Linked DNA regions of Homo sapiens: region 1 is linked to region 2. The links are contacts of gene promoters, found by promoter capture Hi-C in blood cells and fetal thymus (Javierre and others, 2016). All regions are on one chromosome and are shown on one strand. The core of a region is centred on a gene start or on the middle of the fragment in contact, and the rest is flanking DNA. Distances in the headings are between cores, read along the strand shown.

The links. Contacts are between HindIII fragments. The CHiCAGO score rates a contact against its expected background, and 5 or more counts as called.
Region 1: a fragment that was not itself captured here is called in contact with the fragment with the promoter of VN1R1 in region 2 in 2 of 17 cell types (non-activated CD4 T cells and naive CD8 T cells); the score reaches 8.0 in non-activated CD4 T cells.

What each region holds. Positions count from the first base shown.
Region 1 is chr19:37,407,990-37,411,282 of GRCh38, forward strand. It overlaps ZNF569 (zinc finger protein 569), which reads right to left. Exons shown (of 6, transcript NM_152484.3): 6 at 3,168-3,293. Among named protein-coding and RNA genes, the nearest start is that of ZNF527, 39 kb to the left of the region's middle. The HindIII fragment of the contact is 2,024 bases long and covers 610-2,633 here.
Region 2 is chr19:57,455,524-57,459,037 of GRCh38, forward strand. It overlaps VN1R1 (vomeronasal 1 receptor 1), which reads right to left and starts at 1,617. Exons shown (of 1, transcript NM_020633.4): 1 at 1-1,617. The coding sequence starts at 963. The HindIII fragment of the contact is 5,648 bases long and covers 1-2,050 here.

The sequences.
Region 1 (3,293 bases), core at 372-2,871, about 20 Mb before region 2:
AGAGAAAATGGTTAGAACTGATAGAGACCCTGCCAGGCCGGTAGCTCATGCCTGTAATCCCAGCACTTTGGGAGGGCGAAGGCGGGTTAATCACTTGAGGTCGGGAGTTTGAGAACTGATAGAGACCTTAATTACCTGGTCGCTGTTTTTTCAACTGGGATTCCAGGAAGGAATCTCTGGTTAGATCCCACAGTATTCACAACTGATCCTTCCTGCTGTTGACTGATGGGAGCAAAGCTCCACCCAGATTACCTATCTCAATTAGGTTCTTTGAAACTCAGGCCACGTTAGGGATAAAAACAATGGAATTCTATCTGTACAAGTGACTGTTACTCTAGTATAGGGCAATCCCATTTCTCCTTTAAATATCATCTCTTTTTTAAAAATTTTTAGAGTTGGGGGTACATGTGCAGGTTACCTGGGTATATTGTGTGATGCTGAGGTCTGGGGTATAAATGACCCTGCCACCCACGTACTGAGCACGATACCCACTGGTTACTTTTTCAATCCTTGCCCCCTTTTATGTTTTCATTGACTCTTATGTTTTGGTCTTTGAAGATTGCTTAACTGATTTTCTCCCAGAAGTCAGCTTTAAAATCCCATTCCAGAAGCTTACTGACAATTTATAAGGCCAGAAAAGTAAAAAGCAAGCATATAGATTGGAAAGAACAAAACATAACTGGCCCCATTTGCAGATGATATTATTTCTACATAGAAAATCTAAAGGAATTTACAAACAAGAATATCACACACACACATCCAGTGAAGCAGTTAAGTTTAAATCTAATACATTTACCGGAGCTAAAAATTACAAAACAATGATTAAAACTGATGAACTCAAAGAAGACCTACATAAGACACATACTGTGTTTATGGAGTGGAAGGCTTAGTATAGTAAAGACTTCCATTCTTCCACAATGAAATAAAGGCTTAATGCAATTTCTATGAAAATTTAAGCAGGGCTTTTGAAAACACAGACAGGCTGATCCAAAATTTATATGGAAGAGCAAAGAAAGTGGAATAGATAAATAAATTTTGAAAATGAATAATAGGTCAGGTGTGGTGGCTCACGCCTGTAATTCCAGCATTTTGGGAGACCAAGGCCAGAGGATTCCTTGAACTCAAGAGTTTGAGACCAGCCTGGGCAACATGGCAAAACCATCTCTACTCAAAATACAAAAATTAGCTGAGTGTGCTGACACACACGTCTAGTCTCAGCTACTTGGCTTGGAGAATCATCTGATTCTGCAGTGAGCTATGACTAGAACCATTGCACTCCAGCCTGGGTGACAGGAGTGAGACCCTGCCTCAAAAAAAAAAAAGAAAAAGAAAAAGTAAAAAAATGAGAGCAATCAGTATACAGCTATAGTAATCAAGACAGTGTGGCATTGATAGAGGGATAGATGCATAGATTTTTGGAAAAGAGCATTCAGAAACACAGAAGTAGGCCAAGCAATTCAATGGAGAAACAATATTTTTTTTCAACAAATAGCACTGTAACAAGTAGACATCCAAAAAATGAACCTTGACCTAAATTTTATTCCTTATAAAAAGTTAACTCAAAATGTATCATAGACTAATTTTCACATTCAGCTTTAAAATTTTTGTGTCTGCAATAAACTGAAAACAAAACTATTTTTAGAATGCAAGTAACTGACAAAGGATTTGTGTCCAGAATATATTGTAACACACACAAAAAAGAAAAAAATCCATTATGAAAAAACTATAGAGATAGAGAATAGACTAGTAATTGCCAGGGGTTAGGGATGGGGAGTGAGGAGGACAGGAAGATGGGTGTGACTATAAATGGATAGAACAAGGGACCTTTGTGGTGCTGTCAGTTTTATAGATTGACTATGGGGAGTGGCAGTTACACTAATCTGTGCATGAGATAAAACTGTATAGAACTGTACAGACACATACACAAGTGCCTATAAAACTGGTAATGTTTGTGGATTGTACCAATGTCAAATTTGATTCTGTACTGTTATATAAGGTGTTACCATTAGGAGAAACGAGGTGTGGGGTACAAGGACTAAATAGTACTATACAGCATTATCTGTATAACTTCCTATAAATCCATAATTGTTTCCAAGAAAAACATTTTTGAAGTTCCAGTAGAAAAAAACAGACTTAATATATGAATAGACTATTCACAGAAAATGAAATTGGAGGCAACATATTTGTTTTTTTGTTTGTTTTTTGAGATGGAGTCTCACTCTGTTGCCCAGGCTGGAATGCAGTGGCGTGATCTCAGCTCACTGCAACCTCTGCCTCCTGGGTTCAAGCAATTCTCGTGCTTCAGCCTCCCAAGTAGCTGGGATAAGAGGCACACACAACCACACCCAGCTAATTTTTGTATTTTTAGTTGAGACGGGGTTACACCATGTTGGCCAGGCTGCTCACAAACTCCTGACCTCAAGTGATCCACCTGCCTCAGCCTCCCAAAGTGCTGGGATTACAGGTGTGAGCCACCACTGCACCTGGCCACGACATAAATATTTGAAAGGCCTGAATATAAAACATCTGTGGAACAGAATGAAGTGAATTTTTCACATCCACTGGGCCCTTACCTGGCATACATAAAATCACCAGCATCTGCATCCCCATTTATTGATCCAGAAACAAAGAAAAGCTTTGTTGAGATATATAGAAATTGCTTCTACTCTAACACCAATAACTATTCTTGGCTTGATATATTAGAATGTAAACTATATTTTACAGTATGCATGAATGGTCTCTTTCCTTCACTCCAAAACCAACCCAAATGAAGGTGGATTTCTTTCCCCAAATGGATAGCCAATTATCCCAATAATAAAATAATTGTTTTGTTTCTATACTCAACTAGAAAAAAATTTGAGTTTAAAATTAAAAATTGGCCTCAAATAAATGCGAAAATACTGCTGATTTTATTATTCCAATTAACATGAAGAGACAGTAAACAAAATAATACCTTGTCAGGTATGTTTTGTGTAAAGACAATCTTCTATAAATGTTAGTATCTGATCAAGAATAAAAATCCATTTTAAAATTATTTCTCCAGGCCCAGGTTTCCCCCACCCATTTGATTCTTATTTTTGAGAAATTAGGAAAATAAAAGCAAGAAAAAACAATTTTAAAAACCCATATAATTAATTTGGACAACCAGATTTGTCACCACTGTCATATTTGCTTTCACTCTTTTATTAAAGAAATATTACAGATAAATATAACAACTCCCACCAAACCTTTCCCACATCCCAAAAGGCAACCAAGTCATATATGGATCCATGACCAATACACAGTACTGTTCT
Region 2 (3,514 bases), core at 367-2,866:
GCTGCGTGCTGGGAAACATGAGGCGACCAACACAGAGTTGGTCACTATCCACTGGCCTGGGTTTGCAACTACAGTTGTCCAAATTGTCAGAAAACTATGGACTGAATAGAAAACAAAAAAGGAGCTCACCAGGACCATGATGGTGTGTGTGGCTCTGGCTTCCTGGGAAGGTCTGCAGGAGAGTCTGTTGCTGTGATTGTGTTGGACTTGCTGCTTGTGTCTGTAGAGGAAGAAGACCATGGAGCCACTGGCCCAGACCATGAAGCCCAAACTCATAAAATCAGGGGAAAAATATAAGACTGCATGTAATGAGCTAAATCTCTTTGATGCTTTGTAAGAACAGTATCCATAATTGTTTTTTGCACTACTGTTTTTGCTATTCAGTGGGCCATTCACTAATAGAAGAACAGATGCATTCATCAAGACATGGGGGGCCCAGCAGAGGAGACAACAGAAGTCAATAAACCTTGGGGATCTAATCTTGATCTCCATCCACCTGCATATACTGGGGTTGAGCTTAATGGCTTGGAATCCATTGAGAAGGCAGATGGTGCTGAGGGAAACTCTTGTGCCCACCCTGTGATAATAAAAGACAAACTTACATCCAGTGTCATTCAGCAAATATTTCAATCCAAAAGCTGCCATTGTCTGAGGTATCCCTTTAAAGAAAAGGACCATGGAGTTAGCCAAGGCCAGTTGGCTGAGAATCAAGTCCGTGGGTCTCAGCTTGTGTCCAGTGAACAAAATTAAGTTATAAAAACAAAGGAGAAAGGAATTTCCCAGGATCCCAACTCCAGTCTGAATGAGGAAGCTAATCCCTGATTTTACTTTTCCAAAAGCCATTTCATCAAAATCTAGGGGATGTTGATTTTCATTGAGGTCTGAAGAATCAGTAGAATAAAAAAGCAGAAAGAAGTATCTTGTCATCAGTGGAGACAGAAGTTTTAATGTGTCTCCAACCATATTTTCTCATCTTAAACAGAAATTAAGATTGTCCCTGTTCGTGCAAAGGCAATTGCTTGTGTGTCCAACTGCAGAGAAGCAGGTGAATGAATGAGGGCTCAACCGCACAACAGATCCACAAATCAAACCTATAAAACTCAGGGCTTACACACATGCAACAAGTAAATACAAGCAAAACTAGGGAAATATATAAAAACAGAACACAGAAGAGTCAATATCATTAGAGTGATATTATACTATAGTTTGCAAAATGTAATCATGACGGAACCCTGGGTAATATGGACAGGGCTTTTTCTGTATTATTTCTTATGACTGCTTGTGAGTCTACACTTATTTCAATAAAACCTTCAATTAAGTAGCCTGGAGATATGAAAAGCAAAAATAATACACCATAAAACCTTTTCCACACTAATATTTTAGTAAACACCATTGTTATTGATGCATTGAAACAAATTTTAGGCCGGGTGCAGTGGCTCACACCTGTAATTCCAGCACTTCGGGAGGCCAAGATGGAGACCATCCTGGCCAACATGGTGAAACCCTGTCTCTACTAATAATACAAAATACTAATAATACAAAAATTAGCCGGGCATGGCGGCGCGTGCTAGTCCCAGCTACTCGGGAGGCTGAGGCAGGAGAATCGCTTGAACCTGGGAGGCAGAGGTTGCAGTGAGCTGAAATCAAACCATTGCCCTCCAGCCTGGGCGACAGAGCGAGACTCTGTCTCAAAAAAAAAAAAAAAAGAAATTAAAAAAACGCTACAATACAATTGGTAACAAGGCCTTCAGCACAGTACAAATGCTAACTTGAAGAATTTTTAAAAACTATAATTTTTGGAACAATCAACATTGCATCATGGTATATTTTATTTTAAGCACATATATTTCTGTTATTTTCCACCGGACAGGTCTAGAGATTGTGAATTGACTCCGTAGAAATAACCATGACCACCTTGAGCCCACACATTTTTATCTCAATGCCATTTCTCACAAGTAAATGCAAAAGATCCTGAAAATAAATACTAATCCCAGAAACACCTAAGATATCCTTAAAACTTGTTAAATAGGAAATTCAATATGTTCCAGAAAGCTTGGGTTTATTTTTAGGGAAAGATAATTCAATTGGGAGGGAATTTCATTGCACAATATTCATATATATCAATCACAAAAGAAATAGTAACTGCGGCCAGGCACGGTGGCTCACGCTTGTAATCTCAGCACTTTGGGAGGCTGAGGCGGGTGGATTACAAGGTCAGGAGATGGAGACCATCCTGGCCAACATGGTGAAACCCCGTCTCTACTAAAAATACAAAAATTAGCTGGGTGTTGTGGTGCGTGCCTGTAGTCCCAGCTACTCGGGAGGCTGAAGCCTCCTGGGTTCACGCCATTCTCCTGCCTCAGCCTCCTGAGTAGCTGGGACTACAGGCGCCCACCACCACGCCCGGCTAGTGTGTGTGTGTGTGTGTGTGTGTGTGTGTGTGTGTTTAGTAGAGACGGGGTTGCACCGTGTTAGCCAGGATGGTCTCGATCTCCTGACCTCGTGATCCGCCCGCCTCGGCCTCCCAAAGTGCTGGGATTACAGGGATGAGCCACCTCGCCCGGCCATAATTTAGATTCTTTTGGTGTCTCTATGGAATTGCTATCATCAGGGAAAATTATGAGGTATTTTCTCCCATGAATAACTACATCTCTTTAGGGGTGGAGCAATCAATAACACAGCAGTATCAAGATTCTCAGGCGAGAGGTGGCTCACGCCTGTAATCCCAGCAGTTTGGGAGGCCGAGGCTGGTGGATCAGCTGAGGTCGGGAGTTCGAGACCAGCCTGACCAACAGGGAGAAACCCCGTCTCTACTAAAAATACAAAAATTAGTCAGAGGTGGTGGCGCATGCCTGTAATCCCAGCTACTCGGGAGGCTGAGGCAGGAGAATCGTTTGAACCCCAGAGGCGGAGGTTGCAGTGAGCCGAGATCATGCCATTGCACTCCAGCCTGAGCAACAAGAGTGAAACTCGGTCTCAAAAAAAAAAAAAAAAAACTCAGGCTCTGAGGTATGAAAACCTTTTAGATTCCCACAAACCACTTGTTGACAAATGTTTTTCCTATTTATATGAACTCATCATTTATTTTCAAGATAGTTCCTGATTCTTTGCTTTAATCTCTTATTTTGCTCCATTGTCCTAGTTGTATAATTTATTTCCAATATGCATTTGGTTTCCTATTTTTTCAGCTTCTCCTTATAAAGTACCATTTTTACTATGACTATTTTGAAAGCTTCTTGTATGTATAAAGTTAGTGTGATTATTGACTTTAACATACCACCTCCTTCTCCTCCTAGCCTCAGAAAGAAGTGTTGGTAACTGGTGAGAATTTTCAGACAGATTTTCCTTTTTTTTTTTAATTTAATTTAATTTTTTTTTCTTTCTTTGCTTTCTTTTTTTTTTTTTTTTGAGACAGAGTCTCACTCTGTTGCCCAGGCTAGAGTGCAGTGGCGCTATCTCGGCTCACTGCAAACTCCACCTCCCACGTTCAAGCGATTCACCTGCCTCAGCCTCC